Regions from separate parts of the Homo sapiens genome. Here region 1 is linked to region 2. Evidence: promoter capture Hi-C in human tissues and cell types (Jung and others, 2019). All regions are on one chromosome and are shown on one strand. Each heading gives the region's core, a stretch centred on a gene start or on the middle of the fragment in contact. The rest is flanking DNA. Distances are from core to core; before and after follow the strand shown. Region 1 overlaps KMT5B (lysine methyltransferase 5B). Region 2 holds the start of UNC93B1 (unc-93B1 regulator of TLR signaling).

What was found. The method cuts DNA at HindIII sites, captures the fragments that hold promoters and counts their contacts. A contact is called where the count stands out against the background at its distance.
Region 1: a fragment that was not itself captured here is called in contact with the fragment with the promoter of UNC93B1 in region 2 in 2 of the 25 tissues and cell types used here (lymphoblastoid cells and spleen).

Annotation. Positions count from the first base shown.
Region 1 is chr11:68,153,400-68,157,494 of GRCh38, reverse strand. KMT5B (lysine methyltransferase 5B) reads left to right here. Exons shown (of 11, transcript NM_017635.5): 11 at 1-2,632. Among named protein-coding and RNA genes, the nearest start is that of CHKA-DT, 34 kb to the right of the region's middle. The HindIII fragment of the contact is 4,306 bases long and covers 1-3,429 here.
Region 2 is chr11:68,001,996-68,005,884 of GRCh38, reverse strand. It overlaps UNC93B1 (unc-93B1 regulator of TLR signaling), which reads left to right and starts at 1,788. Exons shown (of 11, transcript NM_030930.4): 1 at 1,788-1,937; 2 at 2,087-2,228; 3 at 2,710-2,863. The coding sequence starts at 1,842. RefSeq lists enhancers at 745-1,287, 1,288-1,831, 2,736-2,785, 2,886-2,935, 3,036-3,235 and silencers at 1,666-1,965, 2,026-2,435. The HindIII fragment of the contact is 30,745 bases long and covers 1-3,889 here.

The DNA of each region.
Region 1 (4,095 bases), core at 27-2,526, 150 kb before region 2:
AAATAGCCTTCTTACGTGCAATTCTGAGTTAGAGGTAAAGCCCTGTTGTAAAATAAAGGCTCAAGCAAAATTGTACAGTGATAGCAACTTTCCACACAGGACGTTGAAAACAGTAATGTGGCTACACAGTTTTTTTAACTGTAAGAGCATCAGCTGGCTCTTTAATATATGACTAAACAATAATTTAAAACAAATCATAGTAGCAGCATATTAAGGGTTTCTAGTATGCTAATATCACCAGCAATGATCTTTGGCTTTTTGATTTATTTGCTAGATGTTTCCCCCTTGGAGTTTTGTCAGTTTCACACTGTTTGCTGGCCCAGGTGTACTGTTTGTGGCCTTTGTTAATATCGCAAACCATTGGTTGGGAGTCAGATTGGTTTCTTAAAAAAAAAAAAAAAATGACATACGTGACAGCTCACTTTTCAGTTCATTATATGTACGAGGGTAGCAGTGTGTGGGATGAGGTTCGATACAGCGTATTTATTGCTTGTCATGTAAATTAAAAACCTTGTATTTAACTCTTTTCAATCCTTTTAGATAAAATTGTTCTTTGCAAGAATGATTGGTGCTTATTTTTTCAAAAATTTGCTGTGAACAACGTGATGACAACAAGCAACATTTATCTAATGAACTACAGCTATCTTAATTTGGTTCTTCAAGTTTTCTGTTGCACTTGTAAAATGCTACAAGGAATATTAAAAAAATCTATTCACTTTAACTTATAATAGTTTATGAAATAAAAACATGAGTCACAGCTTTTGTTCTGTGGTAACCTATAAAAAAAGTTTGTCTTTGAGATTCAATGTAAAGAACTGAAAACAATGTATATGTTGTAAATATTTGTGTGTTGTGAGAAATTTTTGTCATAAGAAATTAAAAGAACTTACCAGGAAGGTTTTTAAGTTTAGAAATATTCATGCCAATAAAATAGGAAATTATAAATATATAGTTTTAAGCACTGCATCAGTGGGAGTTCTTGGCTTATGTTAGTTTATGTTAGTTTATTATGAAAACATCAAAGATTTTTTTGACTATATTATCAGTTAAACAAAAAGGAGTCAGATTTAATTTGTTTTTTGAAGCACTTTGAGAAATTAATTTTAATTAACTTAATGAGCAAATTTTTATTACTACTTTATGTTCAATACCAGGTTCTTTTCATTTCTCTGGATTATTTTGCAAATCATTGGACAGAGAATTTGGGAATATAAATCTGTAACAGGTGTTTGACACCAGTAGGTCTCTTTATTTCTGGGAAATGTGTACCTGTACTTTCTGATATACAGTGTTCCTAAGTAAAAATCAATTCAGGGGATTTGTATAGTGTCTATAGGAAAGTAGCCCATGTCTTGAAATATGAAAAGGAATCTGAAGGTCATGAAAAGTCCAGTGGAGAAAATCTCAATGCTTACTGTTACTACTAATTGATTCCTACTAGTTTCCAGGTTTGGGGGGATATTGTTTCAATGACGCTCCTTAAGACTGTTGATTGCCCATAGGTTCCAAATAGAAATTAAGACTCATGAACATTTTTAGAAAGTAGATTGTTTTCTCCTGGTTCTCTAAGGAACTACTTCTGCAGTCTTACATAGTCTCATCCTTGTTTGTTGTGGTGCAGTCGAACTCCTCAGGCGTTTGGAAAGCATGTGGTAGACCTTCTTCCACACCCACCCATACCCCCGTTCACTGCGTCTGGAGGTCTTCAACAGTGAAGTAGGGCAGCCCACACAGCCTCTCAGGAGCACCTGTCCGAGGCACCCGGAGCACTTTGCAGAGCACGTCCAGCCCTCATGGGGTCCCTGCATAGAAATGTGAACCCCTGCCACTGAGGAAGATGAAGGTAGACCCTGTGTCTGGAGGTGCTGGAGGGCAGCGGGTCACCTCTTGTATTCCCACCTTAGTTTGGGGTGTTTTGAAGAGGTTCAGAGACTAAATCTTAAACCTTATTTGAATACCAACGATAGCTATTTTGGGAATTTCGATCTTAAAAAGTGACAAAACACATTTCCCATTTTCATTTTTCAGCTGAATTTTAGTAACTTATTTTTGATGTTTTAATTTTATCATGGCCTCCTCTTTGGAGGCCAACCTTCCCATGGGTCTCAAAGCAGTGACATTTGGTAGTAAATCACTGCCTCTCAGGAGTCGGTATGCACAAGCACTCAGCAGCCACTGTTGATGCCTTCTAGGGAAACCTAATTTCCGTTGGTAAAGGTAGGGGCCTCGGAACTGTTCCGGATCTGCTGTAGAACTTCACCGTGTGGAATGGTGACAGCCACACACCGTTGACCAGTTTAGAAGAGGTTGCATTCAATAAAACTCTTAGCTTGAGCTTATGCAATGATTGGTTAAGATTTTGGCATTGTAAGAATTAGGAGATGATCATAGAAATATATGTAAAGTATTCAATTTTCAATCATTTTCAAATTACTGTTATAAATTGTTTTTGCTGAGTTGTAATACTTTTGAGATACAATGTATTCCTTGTACTGAAAGAATGAAAAAGGACTTTTTCAGCATTTGAGGTAAGTTCTTTAACGTTTCATTAAAAACATTTTTTACAAATATTTTGTACATGCACTTGCAGTATTGAGGTTAATCATTTTAATAAATTCGGAAATTAAAACAATTTGGCCGGTGTTCACTGTATCTGAAAAGAAAAAAAAAAGATCAAAGTGGTGACTTTCTCCACAAAATTTTCATGTAAAACAATTTGTAAAATCAATTTCTAAAGCTTTTCAATACCTGTGAGTGTTGAGTTCTCTGGGCCCTGGTCTCTTGTGTCTGGTGCCACTCATTTTTAAGAGAAGAGAGGGTAAACATACATTCTTCTTTTAGTAGGGAGACTAAACTACATACCTTCCTAGTCCTTGAACCCAAGAAATGTTTGCCCTCAACATGGAGCACAATAACATCGAAGGCTTTTGCAACCCAAATGCATTAATAGTTCCTGATTACTTGGAGTTGTTTTTTTCCCCCCTCTCCGTATTGGTCAAAGTTAGCATACTCATGACTGGCCTGGGTCCTTTTTTCACCCATTTACTGTTGAAATATGACTGTACAGGAGAGAGGAAACCTGCAACATCTGAGTATCCCTGAGCAAGCTGCTTAATCTCCACATCTCTTTCCTGGCACCCAGCATCATTCTGTGCCGGAGATCAGTGTGGACGCCTGGTCCCGTCATCAGTTAAGTTTCTGGTTGAGCTGCATTCACTCATGAGGATAATCTGGGTGAGTGCTGCACACACGGGACTAGTCAAGTATTGATTATTGATTTTTCCTAATTGATTGAAGTATCCACCCAAACTTGGGTTCCCAGTATAGAAAAAGGCTAAGCGTGGCATGTCTGTTAAGTACTTAGGAGTCTTGTTCAGCATCTCAGGTTTTCTCTCTACTCTTCCAATAGCCAATGGTAGCTAACTTGCCGGGAGCCCTTGTGTGACTCGTTTCTCAAATGTCAACTTTCTGTCACTGACCTGCTGCACCGTTGCGTACTCTGCTGCAGAACCCAGTCGCACCCAGAGCAGAGTACAAGCAAGTTGCCAGCTCCAGGGCACTCCCTGTGACTATGGCACGTGTGACCCTCGCATGCAAAGGAAGGTGAGGTTTACTCCCTCCCTGATGTCCTAGAGCACATGGGCATTACTTGTGTTTGCTAATGATAGAGCCCAGGGGAAAAGGAAATTTATTGATTTAGAGACGGAGTCTCACTCTGTTGCCCAGGCTGAAGTGCAGTGGCACAATCTTGACTCACTGCAACCTCCACCTCCCAGGTTCAAGCGGTTCTCCTGCATCAGCCTCCCAAGTAGCTGGGACTACAGGCGCCCGCCACCATGCTGGGTTAATTTTTGTATTTTTGGTAGAGATGGAGTTTAACCATGTTGGCCAGGCTGGTCTTGAACTCCTGACCTCAAGTGATCTGCCCATCTCAGCCTCCCAAAGTGCTGGGATTACAGGCATGAGCCACCATGCCCGGCTGAAAAGTAAATTTGGATTCTTCCAAAAGGGTACCAGGGATTGCTAGGGGCAGTGTGTGTGAATGGCCAAGACTGGGAAAGGGGGTCGCTCACTAACACTGCCTCCACCATCTGC
Region 2 (3,889 bases), core at 539-3,038:
TTTGTCTCACTTTGTTGAGGCTGGTCTTGAACTCCTGAGCTCAAGTGATCCTCCTTGGCCAGCCAAAGTGCTGGGATTGCAGGCGTGAGCCACAGCGCCCGACCCTCTCCAGGTGTTTTGAGTAGGAGACATTGAGTGCAGGGAATTGGTGGTACAGCACAGGTGATGGAAGAGCCCAGGATGGGCAACCATAGCAACCGCCACAACCCCCAGGCCCAGAGGAACAAGGGGAGGAAGAGATTGCACCAGGCCCCAGAAGTTTGGGGTCCCTCAGGGAAATTGAGAAGCTCGGGGGGCCCACTCCCAGCACTTTGGGGGCTAAGGCGGGTACATCACTTGAGGTCAGGAGTTCGAGACCAGCCTGGGCCAATATGGTGAAACCCCATCTCTACTAAAAATACAAAAATCAGCTGGGTGTAGGGGCACACGCCTGTAATTCCAGCTACTCACAAGGCTGAGTCAGGAGAATTGCACTTTCTCATCATACTGTGTAATGATGCTGGTGTCTGCCATCTGAGAACGGCCCCCGCCATAGCCATACTCTCCCACCTCCTCCCTGCCCCTGCGCCTCGGGCCCTGCCCTCTCTTCGGCTCCTTTCCTGTCTCCCACTTCCAGCCACCCACCTGCATGAATCCACCTGTCTGTTCCCCACATCTGCACTTGGGCATCGTCACCTGGAGAAAGTTCTACCTCCTGGAAGCCTGAAGCCACTGCAGATTCACGCCTCCCCCCACCTTCCCAGCAATCCTTGCGGGGTGGGAGGTGTTTGTCATCCAGTCACTCATGCACCCATCCAGTCACAAGTATTGATCACTCAGTAGGTGCCCAATGCCATCCTCTGCATTTGGGAGAGGATGTACCTAAAGAGCAGTGGGTGGAGGGGGGTGCACAGGGAGGGCATGGAAAACCAGAAGGGAAGTGAAGGGACTGCATTCTCTGCAGGGATGGTCTCTTGTTCTGAGAGCTGAGTGGGAAGGAAGCCACCTGGGAGGCGCAGCAGGAAGAGCATTCAAACCAGAAGGAACCCAGGGGAGAGAATCTGGATATTTTCAAAAGTGGCCCCGTGGCTCCAGCCAGGTCGGTGGTAGCCAGTGCTTTGGAGTGTCGGCCCCACCACAGGCTCCCGCTGCAGCCCGGGATCCAGTGCCCAGCAGGATGGGGGCAGGTGGCTCTGGGCCCCACTACATGGTTGTGGCAGGGTCCCCCATGTAGTTCAGTGGGGATCACAATCTCCACCTCCCAGGACCCACTCAAGCTCCCATTTGCACAGCCCAAACTGGAGCAGGATGGGGACATGGGAGGTGGGCTCTGGCTGTAGCGTCCGGTGGTGGGAGGTGGGGTCCAGGTGGTGACGCTACTGTCCCTGCAGTGCTCTTTGATGAGCTGTAACAGCAGGCTTGGAGGTGGGGCTGGGGACGACCCAGGCAACCCTGAGGGGAGCTTAAGGGAGCCAGGCAACCCTGGCACTTTTCCAAGGCTTTGCATTAACTCAATAGTTCCGCCATGGCCCCGGGGGTAGTGCCATGTATTTCTGTTTTACCGTCGAGGAAACGGAGGAAACCGAGGCACAAAGAAATGGAGTTAATTCCTAAAGTCACAGGGCCAGGAGGTGGCTGAGTGGGGATTCGAACTCACACCCCAGAGGGCACACACAGGCAGGCCCCTGCACACACGCGCGCGCGCGCGCGCACACACACATACACACACACGTGTCCTGGAGGAGGCGGCCCGCAGGGCGGGACAGGGCGGGGCGGGGGCAGGTCCCGGCCGCCGGGAGGAAGTGGCCGGGCGGTCGCAGGGACTCCGGGGCGACCGCCGCGAGTCCGCAGTAGTTCGGGCCATGGAGGCGGAGCCGCCGCTCTACCCGATGGCGGGGGCTGCGGGGCCGCAGGGCGACGAGGACCTGCTCGGGGTCCCGGACGGGCCCGAGGCCCCGGTGAGCGGGGACCCGGAGTGCGAGGCGCGGGCGTCCCCTGTGGGCCAGGGTCCCCCCGGCGGGGGCGGGGCGGGCCGGGGGGCGGCGGGCACCGGGGGACACGGGTTCGGGGCGCGATCGCGGGTGCGAGCGGCGTGCGTGGCTCGCAGCTGGACGAGCTGGTGGGCGCGTACCCCAACTACAACGAGGAGGAGGAGGAGCGCCGCTACTACCGCCGCAAGCGCCTGGGCGTGCTCAAGAACGTGCTGGCTGCCAGCGCCGGGGGCATGCTCACCTACGGCGTCTACCTGGGTAGGTGCCGCTCGGGGACCCGGGGCCGCCCCGCCCGCTCCCAGCCCGGCCCGGGAAACAGAAACCGCGGGCCGCCGCCTCCCGCCCGCTCTCACTTCCCCTCCGCTGCCCTCGCAGCTGCAGCCACGGCCCCCCGCGGCGGGGGTGGGGTTGGGGGGTCAAGTAGCGCAGCGTCCCCGGGTCCCAGCCAGAGCCTCGGTGTGGGTGGGGGACGGGGGTCCGGGCTCCCGGACAGACCTGCCACCGTCAGAATTGGAGGCCGGCGGAGCAAGGCGGGTGGGGGTCTGGGCTTAGCTGGCCAAGTGGCCGCGGGCTGGCAGAAGGCGTGGCGCAGCCCGGGAACCCCGCTGTCCTGAGGGGCGCTGTCAGCGGGAATGCCTTCGGTGATTGGAGCTCCCTGCGAGGCCTGCATGCCGTCTTCTGCTCGGTGGCGCCCAAAGCTAGGCTGCTCCCTGCACGCCGCTCTCTGTCCTGTCCCCAGGCCTCCTGCAGATGCAGCTGATCCTGCACTACGACGAGACCTACCGCGAGGTGAAGTATGGCAACATGGGGCTGCCCGACATCGACAGCAAAATGCTGATGGGCATCAACGTGACTCCCATCGCCGCCCTGCTCTACACACCTGTGCTCATCAGGTGGGCGCGGCTGCTCCTGTGGGATGCTGCGGTACTCCCATTTCGGAGGGGTACAGAGGCCGGCGGGCCAGGAGGTGTCCATCTGCCGGGGTGTTTGTGGGGCGAGGGAACAAGGGAGAGGTTTTTTTCTACCCGGAAGCCTGAGAGTGAAGGGGGTGAAACTCGGATTTGGGGAAGGAAACAGGAACTTTGCCTCAGGGCACATTTGGTTTCCAGCAACAGATTCACACGGGCTGAGCTCCCTCCCAGCTTGCCTGGGCCTCACGTGGCACCCTCCTCGTGGCCTCCTTGGAGGCCTCCCAGAGCCACTGTGGCCTTCAGGGTTGGGGCTGTAGAGTTAGGGGTTTCTGATCGGTCAGCAAAGTCCAGGCACCCATGCCTGGCCCAGTCGCTGTGACTGGTGCTGAGGGGGTGTTTCTCACAGACAGGCATGGCTGGGCAGGTGCCCCAGAGCTCTCCCCCAGATCTGAGCCCTGGAGGTATGTGGTTCAGCCTCCCCATCACCGGTCCACAGTGCCCTCCCTGATGGGACCTGGAGACCAGTGGACAAATTAGGTGAATTTGAGCTCCCTCATCTTTAAAACAAACAAACAAACAAAACAACAAGAGAAAACTCCATTTAAACAAAAATTTGAAAATTTAAAACATCTCCCGTTGCACAGGCAGGATTAGAATAACTGAAATCATAAAAAAGAAACCCCATCTAAGCCCTCCAGGAAATCGGCTACCCATGCTGTCCCACCAGCATGCATGGATTACATTCACATCCTTGTCCCCAGAGCACGTGTGTGGACGTGCCCGTGTGTGTGTGTGTGTGTGTGTGTGTGTGTGTGTGTATGCAAGCGGGCTATGTTTGCTTTTGCTTGCTTACTTTTTTTTTTTTGAGACAGATACTTGCTCTGTCACCTAGACTGCAGTGCAGTGGTGTGATCTCGGCTCACTGCAACCTCTGCCTCCCAGGCTCAAGCGATTCTCCTACTTCAGCACCCTGAGTAGCTGGGATTACAGGCGCCTGCCACCCGGTTA